Regions from separate parts of the Homo sapiens genome. Here regions 1, 2, 4 and 5 are each linked to region 3. The links are contacts of gene promoters, found by promoter capture Hi-C in blood cells and fetal thymus (Javierre and others, 2016). All regions are on one chromosome and are shown on one strand. The core of a region is centred on a gene start or on the middle of the fragment in contact, and the rest is flanking DNA. Distances in the headings are between cores, read along the strand shown. Region 1 overlaps LOC105373024 (a long non-coding RNA gene). Region 2 overlaps CIMIP4 (ciliary microtubule inner protein 4). Region 3 holds the start of IL2RB-AS1 (IL2RB and C1QTNF6 antisense RNA 1). Region 4 holds the start of LOC112268295 (a long non-coding RNA gene). Region 5 overlaps CIMIP4 (ciliary microtubule inner protein 4).

The links. The method cuts DNA at HindIII sites, captures the fragments that hold promoters and counts their contacts. A CHiCAGO score of 5 or more calls a contact.
Region 1: a contact is called between a fragment that was not itself captured here and the fragment with the promoter of IL2RB-AS1 in region 3, in 1 of 17 cell types (neutrophils). The highest score is 5.1, in neutrophils.
Region 2: a contact is called between a fragment that was not itself captured here and the fragment with the promoter of IL2RB-AS1 in region 3, in 2 of 17 cell types (M2 macrophages and M1 macrophages). The highest score is 6.4, in M2 macrophages.
Region 4: a contact is called between a fragment that was not itself captured here and the fragment with the promoter of IL2RB-AS1 in region 3, in 2 of 17 cell types (endothelial precursors and activated CD4 T cells). The highest score is 5.4, in endothelial precursors.
Region 5: a contact is called between a fragment that was not itself captured here and the fragment with the promoter of IL2RB-AS1 in region 3, in 2 of 17 cell types (M2 macrophages and M1 macrophages). The highest score is 5.5, in M2 macrophages.

The regions. Positions count from the first base shown.
Region 1 is chr22:37,319,426-37,324,802 of GRCh38, forward strand. The region is part of intron 1 of LOC105373024 (a long non-coding RNA gene); the gene reads right to left. Among named protein-coding and RNA genes, the nearest start is that of CYTH4, 40 kb to the left of the region's middle. The HindIII fragment of the contact is 2,808 bases long and covers 1,795-4,602 here.
Region 2 is chr22:36,987,614-36,993,473 of GRCh38, forward strand. It overlaps CIMIP4 (ciliary microtubule inner protein 4), which reads right to left. Exons shown (of 6, transcript NM_001163857.2): 5 at 3,868-3,978; 6 at 3,512-3,663. The coding sequence ends at 3,566. Among named protein-coding and RNA genes, the nearest start is that of CIMIP4, 17 kb to the right of the region's middle. The HindIII fragment of the contact is 2,121 bases long and covers 515-2,635 here.
Region 3 is chr22:37,164,635-37,170,100 of GRCh38, forward strand. It overlaps IL2RB-AS1 (IL2RB and C1QTNF6 antisense RNA 1), which reads left to right and starts at 2,125. Exons shown (of 2, transcript NR_199008.1): 1 at 2,125-2,330. It also overlaps a transcript of IL2RB not described here. RefSeq lists enhancers at 2,296-2,345, 3,660-3,719. The HindIII fragment of the contact is 5,870 bases long and covers 1-3,192 here.
Region 4 is chr22:37,031,088-37,036,662 of GRCh38, forward strand. LOC112268295 (a long non-coding RNA gene) reads left to right here and starts at 962. Exons shown (of 2, transcript XR_002958751.1): 1 at 962-2,239; 2 at 3,472-4,426. RefSeq lists enhancers at 1,717-2,234, 2,327-2,992. The HindIII fragment of the contact is 3,288 bases long and covers 1,193-4,480 here.
Region 5 is chr22:37,001,788-37,007,523 of GRCh38, forward strand. It overlaps CIMIP4 (ciliary microtubule inner protein 4), which reads right to left. Exons shown (of 6, transcript NM_001163857.2): 2 at 2,179-2,238; 3 at 50-516. The coding sequence starts at 2,200. Among named protein-coding and RNA genes, the nearest start is that of CIMIP4, 3.2 kb to the right of the region's middle. The HindIII fragment of the contact is 705 bases long and covers 3,588-4,292 here.

The DNA of each region.
Region 1 (5,377 bases), core at 1,949-4,448, 160 kb after region 3:
GGGGCTAAGACTTGTGGGAGGTGACAGCATTCCCCGAAACAGCCCAGCGAAGGGCAGGTGTGGGGAAGGAGTCGGGCGGAGGGGAGGTGAACAGGTCACACTGCGTCAGAGGGGCAGCAGGACCTCCCCGTGGACACCTTCAGCTGCGAGTTAGACAAGAGTCCTGGGCTCAGCAGAAAGCCCTTCCCACCTCCTCTTCCGCACCCTCTCACCCTCTTATCTCCTCCTCCTCTCCCCACTCCCACCTCTCCCACTTGCCCCTCCCTCCCCTGTCTGCCCGATTCCGCCCCCTCCCCTTTCTTGGCCATTTAGTCTTGGCTCAGTGGTGTGTACTGGCAGGCACCTGGGTCCTGGGGTCCACCTGCAGGCCTGGGTTCCAATCCCAGTGTGTGGGTTCTTAACAGCACGTGACCCTCAAAAGTAACCCACAAAGACCCAGGTTTGCCCTGGACACCCCGGCCCACCCCCACCATGCCCAGCATCAGTATGTCATGGCCAAAGCCGCCAACCATGGAGCACTCGCTAAGGCCAGCGCCTCCCACTACATGCTGTCTTCCAACCTTCCAGCACTCCCTAAGCAGGCGTGACTATCCCCATTTTACAGAGAAGGGCCCTCAGGCGCACTCTGGCCCAGCCAAGAAGGACCTGAGCCGGCATGGAACCAGCGCCATCTGATCTGAAACCTGTGTCAGGGCGACCACAAACTCATCATCCATAATAGCCCTTCCTATGAGTGCTGGAATCTGGATTCCAGGGGACGCCAGGACAACAGGCAGAAACCAGGACTGCTCCAGGCACCCCAAGACATAGGGTCACGGTAGAGATCAGACATATCCACAAGGTGCAGCAAGGAACTGGGGTCATTCTGGGTGGCCCTGTGGACTGGAAGAGTTGTGCCCCGTGGCTGCTTTATCCTGGAGAAGGAAAGGACAGCTGTTTCCTCCGGAGCAGATGGGGTTCAGCCACCAATTCACCCAGCGAACTTTTCTCCACGGTGAGTCTCCCCAAGTCCTACCCCAAAGTGGCACCGTGTGGACTGACACTGGATTGGGTAAACCTGGTCTACTGCACGCCGTCAGCAGATATTAGCTGTCACTGTTATATTCTTGATGGAGTCTCCCTCGAGAGGGCTGAGTTCAAGGACTCTGAACAGGACAGAACCATGGAAGGCAATGGGGGCTGTCCATGCCATCCTGCCAGCTCTCCTCCTGCAGGAAGCCCTCCCTGACCACCCCTGTCCCCGGGGCTACTTTAAGACTCCAGAGGTTTCACCATTTGGCTTTTGGTGGGCTGGCTTCGTGGTCTGGGGTTGCCAGGCTCAAAGTTTTTGTTCGGCTGCTGAACACCAAGGCCTACAAGCCCTCTCCTTTTCCATCCCTCTCAGCTTCTGTACGGGGGCCTCCAGCCCCATCCAGAAATGCCCTGGCCTAAAAAAGCACCCTGCCTGTTCTTCCATGATGAAATCAAAGGTCACAGACATTCAGGCACACGCCCTAAGTCACCCAGCACGGAGGCTCCATGAAGAAGACCGAGGCAGAAGGCGCCGGCATTTGTAGAACATACTTCATCTCATCTGATCCTCCCAGGAGCCCACAAGGTAAACAGGATTATTCCCATTTAACAGATGAGGACGTGGAGGCTCAGAGAGCTTGTGACTTGCCCAGAGTCACACGACCAGGAACAGGCATCTGATCCAATTGCTAAGGCCAGGAGGAGCCACCAGCTAGAAGGCTCCAGCAGAAGGGCAGGATTAATTCTGTGACCTTTCCAGTCCCTGTGATCCTTTGAGGCTAAAGCTTAACTCTTCTCTTTCTCCCTCCCCCAAGGGATTTTCAGTTCATAAATAAGAGCCCAGAGGGGACCAACCTTTGATCCAAAGAAATGATTTTTTCAGAAAATGTCCCCCATTTAAAAATTAATAAAACATGCTCATTGCAGAAAATTGGAAAGCGCAATGAAGAGGAAGAAAAACTTAGACCAAAAAACAAATGAGATCATGTCCTCTGTTGCAACACGGCTAGAGCTGGAGGCCATTATCCTAAGCAAACGAACATAGACAGGAGCAGAAAACCAAATACCGCATGTTCTCACGTATAAGTGGAAGCTAAATAATGAGGACACATGAATACTAGGAGAGGGACAACAGACACTGGGGCCTTCTGGAGGGTGGACAGTGGGAGGACGGAGAGGATTAGAAAAAAATACCTGGTGGGTATTATGCTTATTACCTGGGTGACAAAATTATCCGTATACCAAACTCACATGGCAGTTTATCTATATAACAAACCTGCACATGTATCCCAATCCTAAAAGTTAAAAAAAAACCTAGACCAAGAATTCCTCTACCTGATAATTTTGTAAACATTTCAGAATATTTCCAACACACCTGTTATGTCTCTGCAATGATACTGCAAATGCAGTTTTGTAACCTTAAGCCAATTTTTTTTTTTTTTCTGGAGACAGATTCTCGCTCTGTCCCTGAGGCTAGAGTGCAGTGGCACAATCTCAGCTCACTGCAACCTCCTCCTCCCAGGTTCAAGCGATTCTCCTGCCTCAGCCTCCCGAGTAGCTGGGATTACAGGCATGCACCACCACACCCGGCTAATTTTTGTATTTTTAGTAGAGGCGGGGTTTCACCATGTTGCCCAGGCTGGTCTCGAACTCCTGACCTCAAGTGATCTGCACGCCTCGGCCTTCCCAAAGTACTGAGATTGCAGGTGTGAGGCACCATGCCCGGCCTAACACTTAAGCCTTAAAACTATGAAATCCGGATGTCCACGTGTATACCAGCCAGGACAGGTTAGGTTACACTGTGGCAACAAATATCCCCAAATCTCAGTGGCTTCACACACCACAAGAGGTTATGTCTTGCTCACACCCTATGCCCTGGGATTGCAGGGTAGGGATCGGCATGGAGTCTCTGCTTATCATAGTCACTCAGGGACCTAGGCTGAGGAGGTGCCATCCTGGCATGAATTGCCAGGAGCGCTGTCTGGATGTGACATGCCACTTCCGCTCACATTGCATTGGCCAAAACATGTCACATAGCTACCTCACTGCAAGGCCAGATGAAATACCATCCTACCACCGGCCATGCAACATGGGAGGACAGTAATACTTGGGGTGTGGCACTAGTGCCGATTATAGCTAGGGTGACCAATTGTCCCCATTTTCTCAGGACCAAGGAGTTTTCCAAAATGCCGGCCTTCTTGTGCTAAAATTGGGAAAGTCCTGGGCAACCCAGGAGGACTTGTCTGCTCCTATTGTACCACGTTGTGCGGTCTTTACACACTCACTTTTCAAAACTGCACAGCAGCCATCTTTTAGATGAACCAAGGTTTCTCTCCCCAGTCCCCTATTGCTGGAGACTCAGACTGTTTCCAGTATTCCATGTTTATAAATACATTGTCTTAAATACCTCCATGGATAAAACCATGTCTACTTCTCAGTGGCTTCTCAGAGGTGCCATTGGTGGCCGTTTACAGGCTCACAATACCTGTTATCCATAGGTAATTCAAAAAGGTTGAAACAATACAATTTGCCTTCTGCAGCGAAAGCACGTACCTGCTTTCCTTACCTTCTCCTGGAGCCCAGAGCAGTCATTCTCTAATTGTAGCCTCCAGCTCACCTGGAGAGCTCCTTAAAACAGATTGCTGGTCCCTAGCGCCAGAGTTTCTGATCCACGGGGGCTGGGATGAAGCCTAACCTTTGCGTTTTTGTGTGTGTGGTTTGTTTGTGGGTTTTTTTGTTGTTTGTTTGTTTGTTTGTTTTGATGGAGTCTCGCTCTGTTGCCCAGACTGGAGTGCAGTGGTGCAATCTCGGCTCACTGCAAACTCCAGCTCCCGGGTTCAAGCGATTCTCCTGCCTCAGCCTCCTGAATAGCTGGGATTACAGGCGTGTGCCACCACACCTGGCTAAGTTTGTATTTTTAGTAGAGACCGGGTTTCTCCATATAGGTCAGGCTGGTCTTGAACTCCCGACCTCAGGTCATCCACCTGCCTCAGCCTCCCAAAGTGCTGGGATTACAGGCATGAGCCACCGCGCCCGGCCAGATGCCACCACTTTGCCACCGAACAGGTGACCCTGCTCAGCTACTCACCAGAGGTCTAACCTGGAGCAAATTATGCAATTAGCCTCTCTTAGCCTAGGTTCCTATCTGTGAATTGGAGCAGTTGGGAGGATGGACTACCAGGGTAACCATGAGTTCAGTTAAAAATAGTTACAGTTATTCAGCGGTAAATTAAATAACTTTATGTTTTAAAATATTTGTGAGTTTGAATGGAACTGCATTGATTAACATTTGTATTCCTTTCATATCTGAGTGGGAATGGACTTTCTCCCTGTGAGGGTTAAGCATTTGTGTTTCCTTTCTAGTGTGAATCATCGCTCCTGCCCTTTGCCCATTCACCTGCAGGTTTCTCTGCCTTTCCTCTCCGTCTGCCTGGGATCATTACAGAGCAAAGATAAACCCCCATGGCCGTTCTTGATTGCTAGAGATTTTTCCAAAGCTGTTGCTCACCTGTCTGCTGGGGCCATTTTTCTGGCTTACAAAGTGGCCGAATCCATCTGACTTTCCCATTTTTATTTTCTCTATCACTTTTAAGCTTAGATTGGAGCCCTTCTCCAGAATGTGACAATATAAAGGAAATGGATTTTGAATGATGAGATTTCCTGCACCTTGAGGGGTGGTGGGGGTGGGGGATCCTGGCTCAACTCAAACCCTGTGGTGGTGATAGAAGGCATAGTCAGAAACCAAGAGCCCCTCAGCACCAGGACAACCCACCACCCTCAGCTCTCCTCGACATTAGCCACGCTGTCTCTCTCCCCATTTGCAGAGTCCCCCCGCAGAGAGGCACAGGGCAGGCCAGAGCTGGATGCGCGGCTGGAAGGTCAAAGGCATCATCCTCAGGTTGGAGACAGGATGACCGAAGGTGTAAGAACTGGCCAGAGGAGTTGGACAACTCCCAGCTCAGGTCTCTCCTCGACTGCTTTGGCCGTGTGAGCTTTGCCTCTCTGGGTCTCTGTTGTCTCATCCATAAAATGGGCCTGACCATGCCCAAGTCAACGGAAGGATTTAAATAGATCAGCGCCCTGAGGTCGGTGCTGGACGCCGAGTACACGCGCCCAGTACACAGGGCTTGAGCTCATTACACGCCCCAGTTCTGTTCCTGGGGTGGTGGCGTGAACCCCACTGCCTTTGCCTTTAATTGCACTGAAAATATCCAGCACCGCTGATATCAAGGGCCCAGGTCCCGGCGGAAATGAACTCCCAGACTTGGGCGCCCAGGTTTCCGTGCGCGACCCCAGCCCCTCCGGCTGCAGCTCAGCCCATCGGCCCTGCGCGGGAACAGTGTCACCCGGGCACCCGGGCCAGAAC
Region 2 (5,860 bases), core at 325-2,824, 180 kb before region 3:
GCATGAGCCACTGCACCCAGCTGAGAACAAGAACTTTTAATACTTGCCAGGTTGTTTTCCTATTGTAAACTATGCTGCAATGGAGATCTTTGCACGCACTCCCTATATACATGTTCAAGGGTTTGTCTAGGCTGTGTAGAAATGGAAATTGTAGGTTGTATGATATAATTTCAATTTTGCTAAATACTCACCCACGGCTCTTGGCTCATAATTCATCAAGGGTACGAAAGTTTCCATTTCCCTCATTCTCATCTACACTTGCGTTTTAATTCTTGCCAACCTGATGGATTGTTTTCATTTGCATCTCTGATTATTGGGGATAATGAGCATCTTTTCAACTCTTCCGTGTGGCTTCTTTAGTCATTAACTCTTTATGTTCCAGCCAGACTGTAAATTCCTAGAAGGAAGGTCTGAGTCTCAAATGTAAGGCCCTCACAGAGGACAGCCCGGTCCAGGCATAGACTCTCTGTTTCCTACCTCACCTCTGTGTTCCTCCTTGGAGCCCTACCTTCCAAGCTTAACAAGCTACCTGCAGCTTGCCAAATACATCATGCTGCAGTTTCATGCATACCATGCCCTCTGTCTGGAATGCTGTGCCTCTTCCAGTCCACCTGAACATCCTTATTCATGTTCCATGATTCATCTCAAGAGCCACCTCCTCTATGAAGCCTACCATATGACCGGCACCCTACCCCATCCCAGGCAGAGCTAACCACGTTCTCCTTTGTGCTTTTGCTGGCCCCACGTGAACGTCTCACCGCATGTGTAAGACTTCTGAGCATCTATGTACTGATGTATTTGTCTTCTCGCCAGACTCTGAACTCTTTGAGGACAGGCGCCATGTCTTATTTATTTTTGCACGTCCAGCTCATTGGTCAGGGCTGGGCAGGGGCATATCATGGGTAGATAAGTCTCTAAGGCAGCTTCTTCCACATCAATCTCCTGCAGACTGCAAAGCTCTGAGGTCTGGACTGTATTGCATATTGCATATGCATATTGCATATTGTATTGCATTCATATTGCTGTTTTCACCGTGCCTAATAGGGCTGAGTGTTTGTGGTGCTCCGTCAACAGGCACCACAAACACTCAGCCCTGTTAGGCACTGCACTGTCATACTACGTACACTGCAGTACGATTGCCTGGTAGAGTAGAAGTGACTTTGGATAGAAATTCCTGGGTTTGCACCCCCAGCTTCCTATGCATATAATCTTGTACAATTTCCTTGGCCTCTCCAAGCCTCAGTTTCCTCATCTTCATAAAGGGAGTGATAACAGCTCTGAGGACTGGTGTAAGGATGAAATACAGTTCCGTATATAAACCATGTGGCACATAATCATTTGCCACGTTATCATTTCTATGTCAGAACAGCACAGAGTCTGCTTTAGCCACAAGACTTTGGGTGGCTCATTTTTTCAGGTGTCACATGTGATGGGCACATAGTAGTTGATGAAGACAAAGTCTAGTGTTTCCAGTGCCCAGAACAGTGTCTTGCAGAAACTAGGTACCCAGTAAAGAAGTTGAACTGAACTCTGCACTTTGCACATAATTAGATATTTGATGAATATTAAATCAAGTCAGATTCACTTCCCTGTATTGCATTCTGATCCAACCCTACCTTTAAGTCATTCCTGGACGGGCGTGGTGGCTCACGCCTATAATCCCAGCACTTTGGGAGGCTGAGGCGGGTGGATCACTTGAGCTCAGGAGTTCAAGACCAGCCTGGCCAACATGGTGAAACCTCATCTCTACTAAAAATACAAAAATTAGCTGGTCATGGTGGTGCACTCCTGTAATCCCAGCTACTCGGGAGGCTGAGGCAGGAGAATAGCTTGAACCCAGAAGGCGGAGGTTACAGTGAGCCAAGATCACACCACTGCACTCCAGCCTGGACAACAGAGCCAGATTCCATCTCAAAAAAAAAAAAAAAAGAAAAGACAAAGAAAAAAAAGTAAGTAAGTCATTCCCTTTTGTGGGAGGAGGGGCAGTTGAGGGAGAAGTAGGAACATGTCTCCTCTTCTCCCAGTAGTGATTTTGATTCTTCCTCTCGCTTTTGATCTTTCAAAAGCAAGATGACCACCAGGACAAACTATTATTTTGAGGTCGCCAATGAACCATTCCTGCATACAGTAATACTCTTATGTAGTCCCCTCTCACAAAGTCTGGGCTTGGCCATATGTCTCTTTGGCCACAGGGACATTGACAAGCCAGTGCAAGGCTTGATAAACCATTGCACATTGAATCTTGTCCCCTGAGACGGCTCCTTCTTGAAACCTAGTCCCCATTCCAAAAGAAGCTCAAGTGAGCCACGAAGAGAGGTCCCATGAGAGAGAGTGATGATCAGCCAGCCCCCCACTGTGGTTCTCATCCCAGCTGAGGCACTAGGCATGGGAGAGGAGCAGGCGTCTTCACAGCAGATGCTATACAGAACAGAAATGAGCCGTACCTCCTGAGCCCTGCCTAAATTGCTCAATCATGAGCAAATTAAGGATCATGTCATTTTAAGCCCACAAGTTTTGGTGGTGTTTTGGAACACAGCAAATAATAAATAACCCATGGGTAGAGCACGGTCTGAGGGTGCAAGTCAGTGATCTCGGGGTGGAGTGTGCTGCGGGCTTAGAGACTCATCAGGTGAAAAGCTTCAGGATCAACTGGAAAACAGAACCGTCTGACCTAGAACCCATTATCTGGGGACTCTTCCCTGGGGCTCCAAGCCCCTATGGTCTGAGGATGCTTTTGGCTCCTTAAACAATGAGGAGACCTCAGGCTCACATTACAGGAAGTCCAGAGGCCGGCAGCTTCTGGCCAAGTTGATGGAGCAGCTCTGCGAGGCCATGGAGGACCCAGAATGTGCTGCATGGTCTGCAATTCCTCTGGTCATAGGTGTCTGGCAGGAGTGGTCTGGGCTGCATGGTTCCTCATTCATTACATCAGGAAAGATGGATGCTCTCTCAGCATTCCCAGCTGAGAAAAGAATTTCCCAGAAGGCTGCACGCATCCACACGTTTCCTTGCATCTTATTGGCCCAAATTGAGTCATATGTGCATGACTGAACCAATCACGTGCAAGAGGTGGGGTTGGGGTAGGGGTAAAGAATCACCATGAGACCAATCAAACCCGCCACTAGATTGGAGGAAATGTGTGTGGCCAACTCCTCTGAAGTCCGTGTCTCGTGGGGGAGGAATGGATGTCTGGGAATAATTGGCATCTTCTAGGAAGAGCATGTAGGGTAAGATCCAGCAGTGTCCACTATAGGACCCCCTCACATAGGGCATGTGGGAGAAGCCAGGCACCCTGGGCTTGAGACAGAGTCATGCCCAGCTCTCATGTCCTTTCCTGGGATAATGGATGAAGGTACGTGTGTGTGCATGTGTGTGCAGGAGGGAGGACTAGGGAATAGTTTGGGACCCCAGGGCTTCTATCTTCCCCCAGTTGGTCTCTCCAACACCACATATCGGCCTCTACTCCAGTGTGAAGAAAGGCACCAAGCACAGGAGGACTCGGACCTGAGCCTTTCCTTATTGTTAGCACTTTATTTGAGTAGAAGACACCTCTACTGTGTCAAAACTAGTACTTGGAGCTCTTGGATTTGCTGTTTTCTCCATATTTCTCTTCCAGTGCTTTCTGCAAGTTCAGGTTCATAGCATTTTTCTGGTGCCACCGCCCTACAGCGAGCAGGAGAAGAGCCAGCACAGATTAGATCATCTGGCAGTCTCTGGAGTTGCCCAGACCCCAGGGATGACTCGTACCTCTTCCAAGTCCACCCCGGCTCTGTCTCCTGCTCTGGTTTCTCTCTGACCCTTAGAGCCAACACACCCTGCTGGTGGAGGACAGTCCCTGCCTCCCATCACCCGCAGCTCCTCACTTACCCAGATCATCCGTCTTCCTGCCATGCCAGTGTTCTAAGTCCCTCACTGATTTCTCAATGACCTCTGGTGTGTAAGAAGCCTTCATGAGGCTCTTTGTCTCCTCAGCAGCCCCTGTAGAATACCATGAAGAAACCCCAAGTGCCCAATTCAGTGGCAGTCGGGTACTCCATGGCTTATATTGGGTGTCAGTTTCCTCTACGGATGGTAAATTGTGGAACGGAAGGAGAGTGGGAAGGGTTTCAAAGTAAAGTCGTTTGGGTTCAAACCCAGACTCCATTATTTATGGGTAGTATAGCCTCAGAGAAATTTTTAACCTCTCTGAGCTTCAGTGTCTTCAACTATACCAAGAAATGAGATTTTTTTGCATGGTTGGAAAGACAAAATTATTGGACATTCATCAAGACATCTAGCAAGTGGCAACTAATACCTGTAACTTAGGAAAACTTATCTCTGTTTTCAAAATTCAAACATGCACAAGCAGATACGTTGCAATGATCAAGAGTCAGCAGAAACACCAAAGGACAAAATCTCCCAAATTAGCAAAGATTTGAATGATCAGATACAGAATACAAAATAAGTATATTTAGGCCGGGGGCAGTGGCTCACGCCTGTAATCCCAGCACTTTGGGAGGCCAAGGCGGGTGGATCACGAGGTCAGGGGTTCGAGACCAGCCTGACCAACATGGTGAAACCCCGTCTCTACTAAAAATACAAAAATTAGCTGGGCGTGGTGGCGGGCTCCTGTAATCCCAGCTACTCAGGAGGCTGAGGTAGGAGAATTGCTTGAACCCGGGAGGCGGAGGTTGCAGTGAGCCGAGATCGTGCCACTGCAGTCCAGCCTGGGCAACAGAGAGAGACTCTGTCTCAAACAAACAAACAAACAAACAAAAAACCTATATTTAATGATTGAAACCATAAGAGAGAATAAAAATATAAGCAAAGAGTAAGAAACCATCCAGAAAGAGCAGATAGATTAGTAAGAGAAGCAAACGGAATTTCAGAAATGAAACACATAATAATTGAAAAAAAATTAAACTCCATGGCAATAAGATGCCTGGGACTTGCTTTGAAATAATCTTGGGTGGGAGTGGATGGGTGGGAGAAAAGATGAGACAAGATCGGCTATGTATTAATCATTGTTGAGGCTGAGTGGTATATGCAACATCTATTTATAAACTAAGTTCTCTTCTTTTCCATAAGCTTGAAAATTGCCATCATAAAAGTTTAAAAAGAAATTCAATTAACAGATAAAATAGCAGATCAAATAAAGCTGAGAGAAAATGGTAAACTGGAAGATATACCTAAAGAAATTAATATTAGGATGCAATACAAAGAAATAAAAAGATGTGGGCTGGGCGCGGTGGCTCACGCCTGTAATCCCAGCACTTTGGGAGGCCGAGAATATATATATAAATTCTATATATACATATATCTAAATCCTATATATAATACATATATAAATTCTATAAAATAATAACATGTAAGCTGAGGTGGAGGTCGGGAGAGTAATTAAAGTTAATTAAAGTTTTTTTTTTCTTTTTTTTTTTTTTGAGACGGAGTCTCGCTCTGTCTCCAGGCTGGAGTGCTGTGGCTCAATCTTGGCTCACTGCAACCTCCATCTCCCAGGTTCAATCTACTCTCCTGCCTCAGCCTCCTGAGTAGCTGGGATTACAGGCATGCGCCACCACACCCAGCTAATTTTTGTATTTTTAGTAGAGACGGGGTTTCACCATGTTAGCCAGGATGGTCTGGATCTCTTGACCTTGTGATCCGCCCATCTCGGCCTCCCAAAGTGCTGGGGTTACAGGTGTGAGCCACGGCGCCCAGCCAAAGTTAAAGCCTTCTAAGGCCCTTAGTGTTCAGGAAAACACAAATGCCTAGATTAACTTTATAATTTGTTAATTACGCATATAAAAATGTCAAAGGTAACCACTCAAAGAATAAGAGGAGTAGAAAAGAACAAATATCAGATTGAGAAAAATAAGAAAGCTGA
Region 3 (5,466 bases), core at 875-3,374:
TCACCTCCTGTCTGTCCCTTCTCAGGCCCAGAATGCAGACCACCAAGGAGGCTCTGAACAGCCCACCTCAGAGACACCAGAGGCTCCAGCATCACCGAGGCTCCAGAGAGCAGAGGGCCACCAGGAATGCAGAGGGCAGAATGCTACAGAGCAGAAAGTTCTAGAAGCATAGCCTTCCCAGGGAGGTACTAGGTAACTCCTCTAGCCCTTACTACGCACCAGGCCCTATTCTAAGTACACATGTTGATTCCCGACTATGCTGAAGGCAGTTTCAGGTTCAAGAGCATCAGCATTCCCTGAGAGCTGGTCAGAAATGCAGATGCTCAGGCCCCAGCCCAGCCCTCCCGAGCCAGAATCTGTATTTTCACCACGTCCCCAAGCAACTCGAGTGTGCACAGAAGTTTGAGAGGCCGCATGTTACCTCAGTGAATCCTGACAACAGCACTTGCAGACTAGGACTCTTATCCTATTTTGCAGATGAAAAAACTGAGGCACGGGGAGGTTAAATAACTCGCCCAGGGCCGCACACAGGTAGGTGATAAGTGTCAGAGATGGGATGTGGGCCTGGGCCATCTGGCTCCTAAGCACATGCTCCTAACTACCAGGCTGCCGCCACCTTTGGAAGAAGAGAGCCATGAGAATTTGAGCTATGGCTGGCCGCATCTGTGCCTGCTCTGGCCGTGTGCCTCTGGCCTTCCAGAACCCACTCTGTCCTTCCTAATGTTTCTCTGACCGTGGCCTCTCCAGGGAGAGTCTGAATCATGATTTTCCCAGGCATGGAAGGTAGGAACACCTGCCAGTCAGCATGGAGCGTTTGTCAAGCGTCTGTATTATCCTGGCTCAGGGCTGGGAGTTATAGCAGCCACAAAAGATGCCCAAGACTCCACCCAGCCCTCAAGGAGCCCAGAGTTTAGCTGCAGGGACAGGAAATAGGCATGGGAACGAATGCAATATAATCACAGCTAAAGTTTGTATGAGATGTGCAGATGCTCCTGGGCAGCTGCCTCTTCAGGGCAGGCTTCATGGAGAAGAGGGCTTTTTTTAAAAATTTAATTTAATTTAATTTAATTTAATTTTATTATTGTTTGTGGGGTTGGGGGAGGAGGGGAGAAGAGGGCTTTGAGCCAGGCCTACCCAGGGCAAGTGCCAGAAGGACAGAGGCGGGGAGGACACAGGTGCAGACCGGCCTAAAGCAGACACTTGGAGCTGAAAACATCCTGAATCCAACCGTCCACAACTCCCCTCTACAGCATCTCCTCAAGAGGGCCAGACTCCCCTGAATTCTCCCTACGGCAAGGAAGTCATTCCTCGCCAGGGGAGCGAGATCATGGCCTGTCTGGTGTGCACGTGTGTGTGTCTTTGCCACAGGTGTGTTCTTTCCAGAACTCCTGTGAACAGGTGGGCCTCCTTTGTGCAAACCTGAGCCATGCACATCCAGCTCAGCTGATAGCTGGGCCAGGAGAGGTGACCTCACCGCCCATGCTCAAGGTCTCTCTGTTGCACTGGACAGGGCCCCTCCAGCCTTAGGCCCTTGAAGTCCTGGCTCCTTGGAAATGCCCCTGCTACTGGGGGGACCCTCAACTGCACCAAAGGACCGCAATGGAAAGGGGGCACTCAGCGCCAGAGCCTCCCCGCCCCCCCACCTCCTGCCGAGAGGAAGCCCAAAACTGGCACATCCACACACACAGCCACACGCCCCCTTTGAAGGCACTGCACCGCTGCGTGTGTTGTACACGGAGCCTGCGCTTCCTGGGCCAGAAGTGAAGCTAAGATGCACTCCACGCATTCAACCGTTGAACCCTCATTGCAGCCACCAGAGTTCTGTGCCACCCCTGCTCCGTTCCCGCGGTGGAGGGAGGACGCCTAGGCCTTGGGAGGGATCGGGAGCGCGTAGAGTGACACCCTGGGCTCCACATCCACGACACCTTCTCCCCCATCTGGACTGCCCAACTACTTCATGCCTACCTCGGGACTTTGCATGCAAAAGGCGCTCAATCATCCCTTCAAGAATAATTGAGTTAGAAAACAGCAGGGCACAATGACAGGTGGGCCCAGAAGTTGCCACCAGAGGGCAGTGCGCGCACCTCCCCAGCCTCCTCGAGACTTGTGCTGCAGGAGGGAGGTGAAGTCGCGGCCAGGAGCGTGACCACGCTGGACCGTGTCTGCTGCCTCCCCGGGAGTCGCAAGTGCCCACAGGACAAGCAGGGGAAGCAAACTGGGCCCCTGGCTTCTGGGAAGACAGCATGAGGGCAGACCAAGGAAAGGCAGCCGAGACCAGCAGACCTGCAAGGGATCTCGGAGGCTCTCAGGCCCAGCTGCTTGCTGAATAGGTAATGATGCATCTGGGCCCAGAGAGAGGCAGCTCTCAGCCTTAGGTCACACAGCAGGGCAGGAGTGTGAACTCTGGCCTCCAGCCTCCGAGGTCCCCTCATCCCACCTAACCCCCAGACTCAGAGAAGGACACTCCACCCAAGCAATTTCTCACCTTCCCCTTAATTGGTACAGATCAGAAACGGGAGCACCTCCTTCTCCTGGCCCCCACGTTTAGGGTTCCCAGGACAGCCTCCGACCCACCCTCTGCCCCTCCTGTATCCCTTTCCTCGGCCCTGGGTGACAGCACCCCTGCCCAGACCAGCTCTGACTGCCTCCAAGTGCCAAGCGCTCACAGTCCTCTACCCCCAGCCCCAGCCGGCACCCTCAGTCTCGTCCCACCATCTCTCTGCCTCCTGAGTCCCTCCCTGAGTCCCATGCCCTCTGCCCCAGCGACTGCCCTTGTAAAGTGAAAATCCGACCCCACCCAACATTTCCTGCTGCACTTATGCAGTATCCAGGCCTCCTCGCCATGGAAAGCCCAGGCCTGCGGCCTCTCTGGCTTCTTCTCTCCCTTGCCCCACTGCCCCTGGCTGTCTGGCAGTTCCTGGAAGTCTCCAAGCTCTTCCCTGCCTCGAGCCCCTGCCCACGTTCTCTCTGCCCCAGGCCTCAGCCTGCGGTCACTTTCTCAGGGCAGCTTTCCCAGCACCCCGTGCATCTAAAGTGGATGCTGCCCTGCCCATCACTGGATCAGGTGCTCATATTCCTAATTGACTGGGCATAGGTGGGAGGATTTGCCTGGTGTCTGTCTTCCTGGCTGGACTGCGGTGCCTCAAGGCCACAGGTGAAGTGCATGGAGTCCCACAGCTTCTCTGAGCCTAAAGCTTTGTGTGACAAATGCATTCAAACTGCATTTATTGAAAGATGGGAAGCAAGGGAGGAAGGGAAGGGGTGCGGGAGGGAGGGAGGACAATCTTGGTGTTGGGCTGAGGTGGCGTCTGTCCCCTTTGCATGAGTTCAGTAAGGATTTACTGAGCACCTGCTGGCAGCAGCATGCTGGGCACTGTGGGAATGACAAGGATGTGTGGGATTTGAACTCTAACTCAGAGTACCTTCTCTTGGTATGGAGGTAGGACAAGTATGCAAATGATTATAACTAAGGAAATCGTGTCAATGTGGTGACCCTTGGCCTGAACTTTCAGAACAGTCCTGGTATCACGTGAGAAGAGTAAATACATGTGATTTGATTCTAAACTGGCTAAGACGTTATTAAAGAAAGTAACAAGACAGAAAAAATACTTTTTCAGGCTGTCTGTGCAGTTTTGTCTTTAGAAAATGTGGTCATAATGAGTATGAGAGGCATAGAGCGTGCCCAGTTTGAAACGCCTGCAAATGACAAAACACAAAAACACAAACCCAAAAATAGAACGTGGCTTGGCTGGAGCCATAGGGGAGGCTCCAGAGGATGTGGCATCGGTGCTGTGGGCAGTGGGTCATTGTGCAAAGGCAGTGAGGGCTGGGTCCCCATCCCACCTTGGCCACTTCCTAGCTGTGTGATCTTGGATAAGTTCCTTTACCTCTCTGAGCCTGTTTCTGCATCTGAAACATGCGACTACTCCCCACCTCTTAGGTTCATGGGGATGGCATGAGATTGTGCACACAGAGAAGCCATCACCCACAGTTCCTGGCATGCAGGAGGCACCTGAGGAAGGCTGGGTTCTTCCTCTTCTCTGGGAGGATGGGGATGAGTGTTCCATAGGCCGGAATGGGTCGAGAGAAAGGGCCCAAGACAGAGGGAGCTGCAAGAGCCAAGGCACAGACTAGGTGGCTGAAGGCAGTTGGGGAACAACAATTATCACCAGAGCCTAATATTTCCCCAGCTCCATCTCCTTCCCTCCACGCCCAGTGCCAGAGGGGCACTGCTTATATAGGGGTTCTGCTTACAGAGGGGTTCTTGCTTACAGAGGGGTTCTGTTTACAGAGGGATGCTGTTTACAGAGGGGTTATTGCTTACAGAGGGGTTCTCGCTTACAGAGGGGTCCTTGTTTACAGAGGGATGCTGTTTACAGAGGGGTTCTTGTTTACAGAGGAGTTCTGTTTACAGAAGGGTTCTTGTTTTCAGAGGGGTTCTTGCTTACAGAGGGGTTCTGTTTACAGAAGGATTCTTGTTTTCAGAGGGGTTCTTGCTTACAGATGGATTCTGTTTACAGAGGGGTTCTTGCTTACAGAGAGGGGTTCTTACTTACAGAGGGGTTCTGTTTACAGAGGGGTTCCTGTTTTCAGAGGGGTTCTTGCTTACAGAGGGGTTCTGTTTACAGAGGGGTTCTTGCTTACAGATGGATTCTGTTTACAGAGGGGTTCTTGTTTACACGTTTACAGAGGGGTTCTTGTTTACAGAGGGGTTCTTGCTTACACAGGGGTTCTGTTTACAGAGGGATTCTGTTTACAGAGGGTTCTTGCTTACACAGGGGTTCTGTTTACAGAGGGGTTCATATTTGTTAGCGGGACGCTGCCATGTCATCCTTCACTCTGCATCCAGAGCATCCTTGCACACAACTCTTCAGGGGCTCCCCACTGCCCTCAAGACCCTATCCAAGCATCCTGAGTCTGGCTTCAAGGCTGTCCCTAACTGGGCCCCCTCTTGAAGATCCCCCTTTGCATCCAATCCTCTGGCCACACAGAACGCAGAATCGCTTGCATGCCTCCCCCTCCTCCCAGGGTTTGCCCCCTCCCTGCCCTGCATGTGGCATCCTTCCTTTGCCTTCTTATCCCGCGGACTCATCATCCTTCAGGCCCCGGGTTCACATCCTCCGTGAAGCCTCCCAGGCCTTTACCCTTGCTTTCTGATGGGGTTAGGTACCTGCCAGAGGCCTTCCTTCTCTCCCCAACTAAAGTGGGTGCTCCCCAAGGGCAGGAACTGAATCCCATTCATTCTGCATTTCTTTATGCTGCCTGGTATGTGCCTGGAGCATAGGAGGTGCTTAGTCATTGTGATGTGGATAGAAGGGTGGTTAATGGGTGAATGGAAAATGGACTGATGGATGAACAGAAGAAGGATGAATGGGGGGATCATGGAGGGAATGATGGAGGGAGAGAAGGAATGATGGGGGAGAAGGAAGGAAGGATGGGGGAGAAGGAAGGAAGAATGGATGGATG
Region 4 (5,575 bases), core at 1,587-4,086, 130 kb before region 3:
ATGTCCCCTGGGGGGCAAAAATCACCCCCAGTCAAGAACCACTGCCCTAGGGGCAAATAACACAATTGACCACTGCAGTCAGGAACAGTGTAGACAGGGAACCCCAACATGGAGGGGCTCCCCGACTCCCCATCATAAGCACCTTCTCCCAGAAGTGGAAGTGAGGCAGTTTAGACACTCCCCCCTTTCTGGCCGGTCTCAGACAAGCTTTAGTTTTCCTTCCTGGAATGGCTCTGCCACTTTGAGGAGACAAGTTTGTCTGCAAACATGTGAGGTTCTGATCCAGCTTCCAGTCCCAACCACTCCACACAAGGCAGCCTGACCTCGAACATGCTGCCCAGCCTCTGCAGGCTTCCGTTTCTTTTTTCCCCCCCACCCCGAGATAAGAGTCTTGCTCTGTTGCGCGGGCTGGAGTGCAATGGCACGATCTCGGCTCCCTGAAACCTCTGCCTCGCGGGTTCAAGCGATTCTCCTACCTCAGCCTCCTGAGTAGCTGGGATTACAGGCACTCACCATCACGCCCGGCTAATTTTTGTATTTTTAGTAGAGACAGGGTTTCACCATGTTGGCCAGGCTGGTCTCAAACTCCTGCCCTCGTGATCCACCTTCCTCGGCCTCCCAAAGTGTTGGGATTACAGGCGTGAGCCACAGCGCCCAGACCCGTTTCTTCACCTGTAAAACGGGCAAAATAGTACCTTCCTGGCCAGCACGGTGGCTCACGCCTGTAACCTCAACACTTTGGGAGGCATAGGTGGGAGGATCACTTGAACTCAGGAGTTCAAGACCAGCCTGGACAACATAGTGAGACCTCATCTGTAGGCAAAAATAAGAAAAAAGATGAGCCGGGCAGAGTGGCATGTGCCTGTAGTCACAGCTACTTGGGAGGCTGAAGTGCAAAGATCGCTTGAGCCTGGGAGGTCAAGGCTGCAGTGAGCTGTGATGACACCACCGCACTCCAGCCTGGGAAACAGAGCAAGATCGTATCTCAAAAAAAGAAGTACCTTCCTGAGCAGTATGAGGATTACATGAGATAATCCACAGAAACTGTTTTGCTTGGTGCAGAGTAAACACCAAGGGTTTCTTCCCATTAGTTTTAAAGGAGTTTTACTTATTCAGCATGTTAAGTGCCTTCTGCACTTCCGGCATTGGAGGAGAGAGAGTGACAAATAGAATTGTGTCCCAGCCCTCTCAAAGCTTCCAAACTAGGGAGGAGAAACTAGTCTTTTAGAGTACATTTCCAGAGAGAAGGGGGTGCTGTGAAATGATCTATTTCACAACAGACTAATTTTACAGGTGGGAAAACAAGCTCAGAGAGGTTCAGTGATTTGCCTCAGGGCACACAGCTAGTTTGCTAGAGGAACCTAACTGGAGTTAGAATTCTCCAGGGGAGGAGTTTCTCCAGCGGATCTTGCCTGCCATGGTTTTCCAGATTCCAGGATCAAGGTGAGAACAGAAACGCATGAGAAGCTCAGGGAAGATGGCCACGTGTTTCTCAGCTCCACAGGGAAACCTTGAGCAGTGGAATTTAACCAATGGGTTTGGGTTAGGCGCCCTTCCCCTACCCTAGTCCAACCTGCAGCAAGGAAACCAAGGCTGATTCCAGCCCGGGCTTTTTTCTCCTGGGAAGGTCCTCCTTGGGTCTGGACAGGCTCGGAGGTGACCTGCCTAGAGGTGGGCGATCTAGCCGCACCTTTCTAGGACTACAGAGCTTCAGTTTAACTTTGCAGGAGTTTGTTAGGAATGAACTAGACACGCACCCTCCGCCCAGCTCCGTCCCGCCTCCTGCAAGCCTGAACTCTTAGAATAATTAACCACTGACTGCAGGATCCTGGCCTCTGCCAGGGCCCGCCCTACCCAACCTGTGTGTTCGAGGCAGGAACTTGCAACACTGAGCAACAAGAATGATGAAATTTTTATCCACTTGGCAAATATTTGCTCGGCGCCCCCTCTGTGTCAGGAACAGTTGGAAATGCGTTTCCCAACCTTGCCTAACCAGCTGCCCTGGAATGTTTTCCACTTCCTGGGTCATTGCCTCCAGAGATCAAAGCCCCCATCCACACAGTGGGCTGAATATGGATCCATGCAGCGATCTGGTCCTGGTGCTGTGGAATCAGCTTTGCACAAGGCCCCAGAAGGTCTGCGTTCCAGAGCCTTCCTGTTGGGGCCTCAGTCTTCTCATCTGAAAAATGGGAGCAAACTCAGTTCTGCCATGCCCAGTGTGGGTGTGATGTCACATCAGGTAAGGCTCAAAATGAAGTCAGGTGTCACACCTACTGGAATAACCTCAGCTCTATAAGCACAATGGAGCTTTATTATCCTTAACTCATGGAGGATGAATCACTTGGGGGAAGATGAAATGTTGAAATATTCAGGTTAACGGAAAGTGTTATTTTAAGCACCTAAATTTTTTGCCTATTAACCTACTAGGGGTGGAACTTGGTAGGCTGATCTTGCCTGAACTTCTGGGGGCTTTGTTTGATCCCTTGATTGCACAGCGATACCTGCAGGGGCTCCTTGCCCCTCAACTGTCAGGATGTTGAGGTCTTCAGGTCCTCGATACTGAATCCTAGCTGACTGCCCTTCTGGTTTCCCGTCTGTGTTCTCTGGAGTCTCCCTCGGCCTGCTTCGAGGCGGGCCCGCTCTCTAGATAATGCTGCCATTCGGATGGTTTCAACGACTGTGCTGAGCCAGTGACTCTGGAATCGGGGCCTCCCGCAACTCGATTCCTCCTGAACTCAGATCCCTGAGTCATGGCCTCCCAGCCCCAAGCCTGCTCCTCCACCTGTGTCCCCTGTCTCAGTGTGCACGGTCACCACTTGTGGGTCACCCAGGCCCACACCTGGCAGCAAGTGATCTGAGACTCTGTCCCACTTACCTACAGCCGGTCAGACCTCCACCTCTACTCCCATTGCCTTTGTCCAAGTCCCCCACTCAGCCCGCACCCAGCACTCAGCCTGTCTCCTCCATTCATTCCAGGGTACTTCCTAGGGACAGGCCCTGTGGCAGGATCTGGGGGCATGGAGGATAAAGACCAGCCCTGAGAGGGGGCATTCGCCCCATGGGGAGGGACAGACATGGATCCTGGCAACAGCGTGGCGAGGAGTATCTGAGAAGTGGAAACACAGAGAACCGCCATGGGTTGGGGGGCTGGTTCTGGGTCTGAGAGGCACCTCCACACCCACGCATAGTCCCTTTTATGAATTCCCTGGACTGTGCCCTCTTGCTCCAGGGAGAGCTGCAGCAGGGGACGGTTCAAAGGGCAGCCTCCGGAGCACCCTGACCTCCAACTCCCTGGCCGTGAGTGTGGGCAGAGGGGCCTGGATTTCCTCATCTGAGACGTGGCAATAATCCACTTTATAGGATTGCTGTGAGGATGAAGTGATTTGGTTCATACATAGCACTGAGAGCAGAAGCTGACCTCATAAGCACCAAATCCACGGGCTTGTTTGTTTGTTTGTTGTTTGTTTTAAGATGGAGTCTCGCTCTGTCACCCAGGCTGAAGTGCAATGGCAAGATCTCAGCTCACTGCAACCTCCACCTCCCAGTTTCAAGCGATTCTTGTGCCTCAGCCTCTGGAGTAGCTGGGATTACAGGTGCCCACCACCACACCTGGCTGATTTTTGTATTTTTAGTAGAGACGGGGTTTCACCATGTTGGTCAGGCTGGTCTCAAACTCCTGACCTCAAGTGTTCTGCCTGCCTTGGCCTCTCAAAGTGCTGGGATTACAGGCCTGAGCCACTGTGCCCGACCACCATGTTGTATTGTTACTGTTACTGCTCTCCTGTCCTGCACCTGCCCTGCCTGCCTCCCTTGGCTGGGCTGTAAAACCTTGAGGGGTAACGTATCTTATTCATGTTTCTTGTCCTGGTACCAGCACAGCAACTGACATGGATGGGGGGTTAGGGGCTCAGAAAGCATTGCCCTAAAATATGGCGCTCTGACATGAAGCAGCCTCAAGGTCTATCTGACCTCCCTGCCTCCTTCTCTGAATCCTCTGTCTCTCTCAAAGTGCAGGATGACGCTGTTCTCTGAAGTTTCTTTATCTGCCTAGAAACGGGACCTGCCAAAGGGGAACACAATTACCTTCCCTGGAATATCATTAGCTAGAGGTTAAAACTCATATCCTAGAGGATATGAGACTGAACATTAAACACCACACCTACAGCCCAGATAAACTTCATCCCAAACCATTATCTGCTCTCTTTCCCTTTCAATGTCCAAAGAAATTATTAATTATCATCTGGACGCTGGACTCATTCATTTCCCCCCTAAAAACCATTGACTGTCCTTCAAATTGCCACGTGTCCCCCATCTCTCCTTCCCCCGTGAAGAAGGGCGCATGCACCTGTACCCCACTGGGTTATTGGGTAACTTCTGTGATTCCCTCATGCTCTGCACGTTGAAATAAATTTTGTCTTTTCTCCAATTAATCTTCCTTTTGTCTGTTGATTTTCAGCGAGCCTTCACGAGGAGAAAGGGAAGCTTTCCCTTTGTCTCTGCAGGGGCCAATGAATGTTTAATATTACACAAGTACACTCTCAGGGCTGAGAGGCACCTTAATAACCCCTCCTGTTTACTGTTTCCATGTGCCAGAGAGGATGCTAAGTGCTTTGCCTCCATTTACTCTAACCACTCCGAGAAACAGGTGTTATTATCCTCCATAAGTCAGGTGATTGAGGTCAGGAGTTCGTGACAGCCTGGCCAACATAGTCAAACCCCGTCTCTACTAAAAATACAAAACATTAGCTGGACGTGGTGGTGGGTGCCTGTAATCCCAGCTATTTGGGAGGCTGAGGTAGGAGAATCACTTGAACCCAGGAGGCGGAGGTTGCAGTGAGCTGGGATCGCGCCACTGCACTCCAGCCTGGGCAACTTTGCCTCAAAAAAAAAAAAAAAAAAAAAAAGTCAAGTGACTTGCCCAAGATGACAGGAGAGGTTAGATCTGGGGCTGGGCTCTGAATCCTAGACAGAATGACCACAAGGCTTTTGTCCACTACAAGACAGAATTGGGGAGGGGATCACAGAAGAGGGAGCAGGCTTCTCTCTGGGTGGGGAGGTGTCATACACCCCTTAAAACACATAGGTGTGTATGCACACGCACACAAACACATGCACGTTCACACCTTTGTACACAAGTGAGGAACAGGGCAACCAAAGGCTAATTTACTTGTCTGGCTAGCTGTGTGCTCTTTGATATGTTTCTCCGGGACTTTTTTTTTTTTTTTTTTGAGACGGAGTCTAGCTCTATCACCAGACTGGAGTGCGGTGGCACAATCTCAGCTCACTGCAACCTCCACCTCCCGGGTTCAAGTGATTCTCCTGCCTCAGCCTGCCGAGTAGCTGGGACCACAGGCACCTGCCACTACGCCCAGCTAATTTTTGAATTTTCAGTAGAGACGGGGTTTCACCATGTGGGCCAGGATGGTCTCGATCTCTTGACCTTGTGATCCACCTGCCTCAGCCTCCCAAAGTGCTGGGATTACAGGTGTGAGCCACCGCGCCTGACCTCTCCAGAACTTTTTTTTTTTTTATGCTGCCTGATTGACTTCAAAGTAAAAGCAAGGACAGGCACGGT
Region 5 (5,736 bases), core at 2,690-5,189, 160 kb before region 3:
GTCCTCATTATAAGACTCTGCATCACCCTCCTGGCCCCTGCTATGACACCTGCTCCTCGGAGACCAGCTGGTCCACCACATTGCTCCCAAACTTGTGGCGAATGTTGTTAGGAATGATGCTGCCCTTCTGGTTCGTGGGCGTGCTCCTCTGGTCCTGAGCCCCCAAGCTGGGACCGTCATCCGTCCCCTGGCATGGCTGAGCCCCCTCTCCCGAGGTGGCCCTGTTCTCTCTCGAGGAGGATCGAGAGCCCGCATTCTTCAGGGACCTGGACTGTGGGTCCATGCCCAGAGAATCCCTGCTGGCAGCAGTCGGGGGTGGAGGGGGAATCTCCTTCAAGTGGCACTGCCCTAGGGAGCTGCCTTGAGCGCTGGCTCCCAGGGGCAGGGGCTGTGGGGATGACAGACCCTGGTTCTTGAACTTGGAGGTGTCCAAGGAACTGTAGGCCGCTTTCCAGGGGTCCAAGTCCTGTTGGCCCTCCTTGTCATTCAGATGGGCCCTGGTGAAAGTGGTTGTACCTGAGCAGGACAAAGAGAAACAGAGGGGGAGGGAGAGAGACACGCAGACAAGGGCAGAAAGTAGAGGGTGGGGAGGGGGCAGAGATGGGGGTGAGGAGGGGAAACGGACAGACAAAGAGCCCCAGAGCTCCACAGCCAGAGAAGGGGAGAGGGACGGAGAGGAAGCGCAGGAACCAGAGGCATGGGTGGGAAATTAGGAGACACAATGGGAGAAGAGAGGCCAGCCTGCGTGCCTCCCACGGGCAGGGTTAGTCCACATTGCCTGGGGCAACAAGGGCTGCCGCCTAAGCCTGTCCCGCCTTGAGGCCTAGCTGTGTGACCGCAAGCAAGGGACTTGGCCTGTCTGTGCTTTCATGTCCCTGGCTCCATTTGGATAGTTCCCTTCCCCACTTTTCCATCTTGAAACCTCCCCCTCACTCTCCGCAGTGAGAATCTGGCAGCAGCGGCACTGGCAGAGGCGTTCCTGGGGCTAAGCCACATGCCTGGGAAGTACTGGAGTTGGATGGGACTTCCAGACTTTGCTTCCAATGCAAGACTGCTCCCCAATACCTACCTCCTCCCTTCGCCAGGGCTGAGAAGTGGCACCATCCCAGCCACCTCCCAGGCTCTCTCCTCCCCGCCTCTCCCTGTCTCCCACGTCCCTGCCCACAGCCTCCGCTTCTCTAGGTCTCTTGCTCTCAGCCTTCAGTGTCTCCTCACAGCCTGGCCTCATCCTCCACCCCAGATTACAGCTGTAAATATGTTTGGTGGTCTTCCCTCCAAAACTTCAAGTCCTCTTAAAAGATACATAAGGGCTGGGCATCTTGGCCGTCAGGCCTCTGAGCCCAAGCTAAACCATCATATCCCCTGGATGATAAACCTCCGCAGAGTTTATCTAAATGTGGCCATGTATGAGGATTCCCTAGGCTCTCATTAAAAATACAGATGCCTGGGACCCTCTCAGAGCTGCTGCATCAGAAAGGCCCTGAATCTGAGTGTTTAACAAGCCCCTGGGCATTCAGGTCATTGGAGGAAGATTTTAGCAGGATCGCTGCCCCAACTCACTGGACTCTCTTCTCCCCATCCCACCTGCCAGCCCCAGCCAACCTGCACTCACCCCTGGGGACCATTCTCAGAGCGGGCCTGACTCAGTCACGCCTGCATCAAAATCTTTCCTCTTGTCCTCAGGGCAGAGTGCCTGCTCTCGGGACTCCACAAAAGTGCCAGCCGTCTCTCCCTCCCAAGCCTTTGCCTGAGCTATTTCTCCTGCCTGGAACACTCCCCTCCACTCCTTGGGCTACACTACCCCTGCTCTTGGCTCACGTGTAACCCCATATATACCTCCCATCCATTGAGGCCAGGCCCCTCACCATGTTCCCCCACAGCCCTGCCCTTCTGGTACACACAAGACTCAGAGCACCTGAGTCACCCCCTCAGGATGGAGACCATATCGGGGTGATAATCCCTGCACATGGCAGGATGGGAGGGCTCAGTAATTCCGTTCCCTCCTTTTTCCTTCTGTCTTCCAACAGAATGCCCCCCTAGGAAGCCTGGGCCGATGGTGGGTCTGGAGGCCAACACAAGACGGAGCGGGAGGAGAAAGGGCCGGTGCCCTGCTGCCCCAGGGAGTCCCTCCAGAAGCCTGGATGTGCATTCAGCACATCCCTGGTCTGCCTGTCCTACCTGCTCCGTGGCCCAGCTCCATAGCCTCTTGCTGTGGGACAGGCAATTCCAAGCTTAGTCCTGTAAACAAAGCACCACGTTTCATCGTCTCAGATAACACACAGAGTTTCTGTGAACAAGGATGAGCTGGGAGCTGAACAGGAAGGCCTGTGGCTGTCTGCCCGCCCCTGATCAGAGGTTCCTAAGCTGCCCCTGGTGCCCTCTGGCACTGCCCAGACCCACGGAGCCTCTGCCCCATTCACTCATCACCCCTGGCACAGGGGCTGCCTCCTGGACTTCTGCAGCCTCTGCCCTCTCTGAAAAGCCCTGGCCACCCCCACCCCACCCCACCAGTCCTCAAAGACCTATCTCAAGCAGCCTTGGAACCCTGGGCTCATTTTACTCCTTCATAATTTTTCCTTTCATCTCCTCCTCCTCTTCTGCCCCATCACCACCACCCTAGGAGACCCTAGCAGGCCCCTGGCTGTGAAGCCCATTGCCCCGGCTCCCATCCTGGCAACCATTTGTCTTCCTGCAAATAGGATTGTATCCATTTGCTGAATGGTCGTTCGTGCTCAGGGAAGGGAAGCAGCTTAGCCACCACGAAGGAGAACCAAGAGCAGGAACCCACACTTTGCTCTGGTGTAAACTCAGTCTTCTCTCTAAGGCCTTGGATTCAAATTAGAGGGGTAGATTCAAAAGCCTCTGCAGCTTTCGTGCTTGTGTTTTGTTTTCTTATGTGATCTTTCTTTTTTTTTTTTGAGACAGGGTCTTACTCTGTCACCCAGGCTGGAGTACAGTAGTGCAATCTCAGCTCACTGCAACCTCCACCTCCCAAGTTCAAGCAATTCTCCCACCTCAGCCTCCTGAGTAGCTGGGATTACAGGTGTGCACCACCACATCTGGCTAATTTTTGTATTTTTAGTAGAGACAGGGTTTCACCATGTTGGCCAGGCTGATCTCTAACTCCTGGCCTCAAGTGATCCACCCGCCTCAGCCTCCCAAAGTGCTGGGATTACAGGTGTGAGCCACCGTGCCCGGCCTGTGACTTCGGTTTTGTTTGCTCTCTTTCCCTGGTTCTCCTTGGTTTGCTCATTCTGATGACAGCAAATGCCGTGTTTTGAGCTGCCCTGTGGAGCAGCCCATGGAGCAAGAAACTGAGGGTGACTTCTGGCCAAAAGCTCATAAAGAATAGAAGCCCTGAGTCCAACAGTCTTTGAAGAACTGAATGAATCCTGACACCTGAATGAGCTTGAAAGTGGATCCTTCCCCAGTTGAGCCTTGATATGAGAACACAGCCTGGATGACACTTTCATTACAGCCTGTGGGATACCCTGGGCCAGAGGACCCAGCCAAGTGAGCATCCTGACTCCTATAAGTTCTGAGATCATAAATTTGTACTGTTTTAAACATACAGTGTCAAACTTCTAAGCTTTATGGTCATTTGTTACGCAGCAATACATAGCTAATACATATTTTGGTACTAACAGTGGGGTGTTGCTATAACAAATACTTAAAAATTTGGGACTGAACTTGGAACCAAGCGGTGGTCAGAGTCTATAAGGATTTTGAGAAGCATGATAGAAAAAGCCTAAATCACCTTAAACAGTTTTTTTTTTTTTTTAAGCAGAAATCTGGAGTTGGAAGATGCAGTGAGTGAGGGCCCAAATGGAAGTGAGGAATATATTACTAGAAATAGTGGAAGAAAGACCCTTGTTATGTAGTGGCAGAAACAGTGACACTGTCATCTGCAGTTATGTGACTAATGAACTGAATGATTTAGCTAAAGAGTTCCAAAGAAAAGATGGTAGTTGCCTCTTACTTTCTTCTTGCTGCTTGTAGTGAAATGTGAGAGGAAGGTGATGAATTGAAGAAGGGACTGTTAAACAAAAAGATGCCAGTACTTAATGGTTCTGAAGTCTCATCCTTTCCAGATCCCAAAAGATGCTAAAATTAAGAAATAGCTTCAGAAGGCTGTCTGGAAAGTGTGCCCAGGAGTGTGACTGTGCGACCTGTTGTTAAAACTTCAGAAAGATCAAAGGATGAGGGTATTACTCTGTCAAACAAAGGGTGCTTTAAAGAGATTAAAGAGATGCCTGATATATCCTCTTAACAGAACCATAGGACCTCTAGGAAGCTTAAGGCTCCTCAACAGGAGCCTCAGTTAAAAAGGGGTGTGACTTTTGTTCAATGGAGTGAACCCCTGTAAGTTTTACTGTTGAGAAAATAACATCAGCAAAATGTTGGCAACTTCGGGTAAAAGGGATAGAGACAGTACAAAATGAAAAGATACCATTGAACAAAAAATAAAAATAAAAAAGACAAGTCAGAGAGTGGATGCAAGAGTCCAGAAGGCAGAGCTGAGAGCCATGGAGAATTATCCCCAGGCCTTGAAACCTAATCAAGGAATGTCCAACATTTGTGTGGCTGGATTTCAAAACCGCTATGGAACATTGACTCCATGTCTCCATTTTCCTCAATTTTGAATAGGAATGTCACTAGTTCTTATCCTATGCCTATCACATCACTGTATGTTAGGTGTGTTCAGGGCAAATTACTTAGTTTCACAGATCTATGATGGGGAAGAATTGAATCTGAGAAGCTGTACTTAAGGAACGACACTGGAGGAGCCTCAGCCACACCTGGAGCTGATTTATATGACCAGATTCTAGCTTTTAAACTGATGCTTTAATAGGATGAGAATTTTAAAGATCTTAGGAGGGGATGACTATATTTTGCATGTGGAAGGGATGTACATTATTGGGGGCCAGAGGGCAGAGAGTGGCAGGCAGTTGACATGGCTCCCAATGATCCCTGTTTCTTGGTATAATTCTCTCCCCTTTGGTGTGGACTGGACATAGTGATGAATGGAATGTGGCAAAAATGAGGGATGTTGCATCCATGATGAACTTATAAGAGACTACAACTTCTGTCTTTTTCACACACTCTCTGCAGCTCTCCTCAGCTCATCTTCTCTGACAGAAGCCAGTTTCCCTGTTGTGAGATGCCCTATGGAGAGGTCCACAGGGCAAGGAACTCAGAGTGGCCTCTTGCCAACAGCTCCAGAGTAGCTGGATCCTGCCATGTGAATGGGTTCCTTCTCTGGTCGAGCTTTGAGATGAGACTAGAGACCCAAGCAACACCTTGATTGCAGCCTGTGAGAGACCCTGGGACAGAAAAATCACCAACACTCCACCGGTATTCCCAACTCACAGAAACTGTGAGATAGTAAATGTTGTCTTAAGCCCACTAAGTTTTGGGGTGATTTGTTGTGCAGCAAGAGATAACTAACACAAGTCCATGTCAAGCATTCTCACATCTGGTAAATTAGTCTGGTCTTCACAAATACCCAGTAAGGTGTTCGGAGACACTACTAATTTATCTTCTTTCACAGATGGAGAAAATGAGGCTCCGAAAAGACACAGGACTTCACCAGGTGGGGCTAAAATTAAATTGCACATCTTCAAGCTAGGTGAAGTTCAAGTTAGCTCCAAGTTTTCTTTCTCCTCCTATCCCCAGCCACCAACCTGACGTGCCCACGGCAGCTCTGTACGTCCCAGTGCACTGCCAGTCCACAGC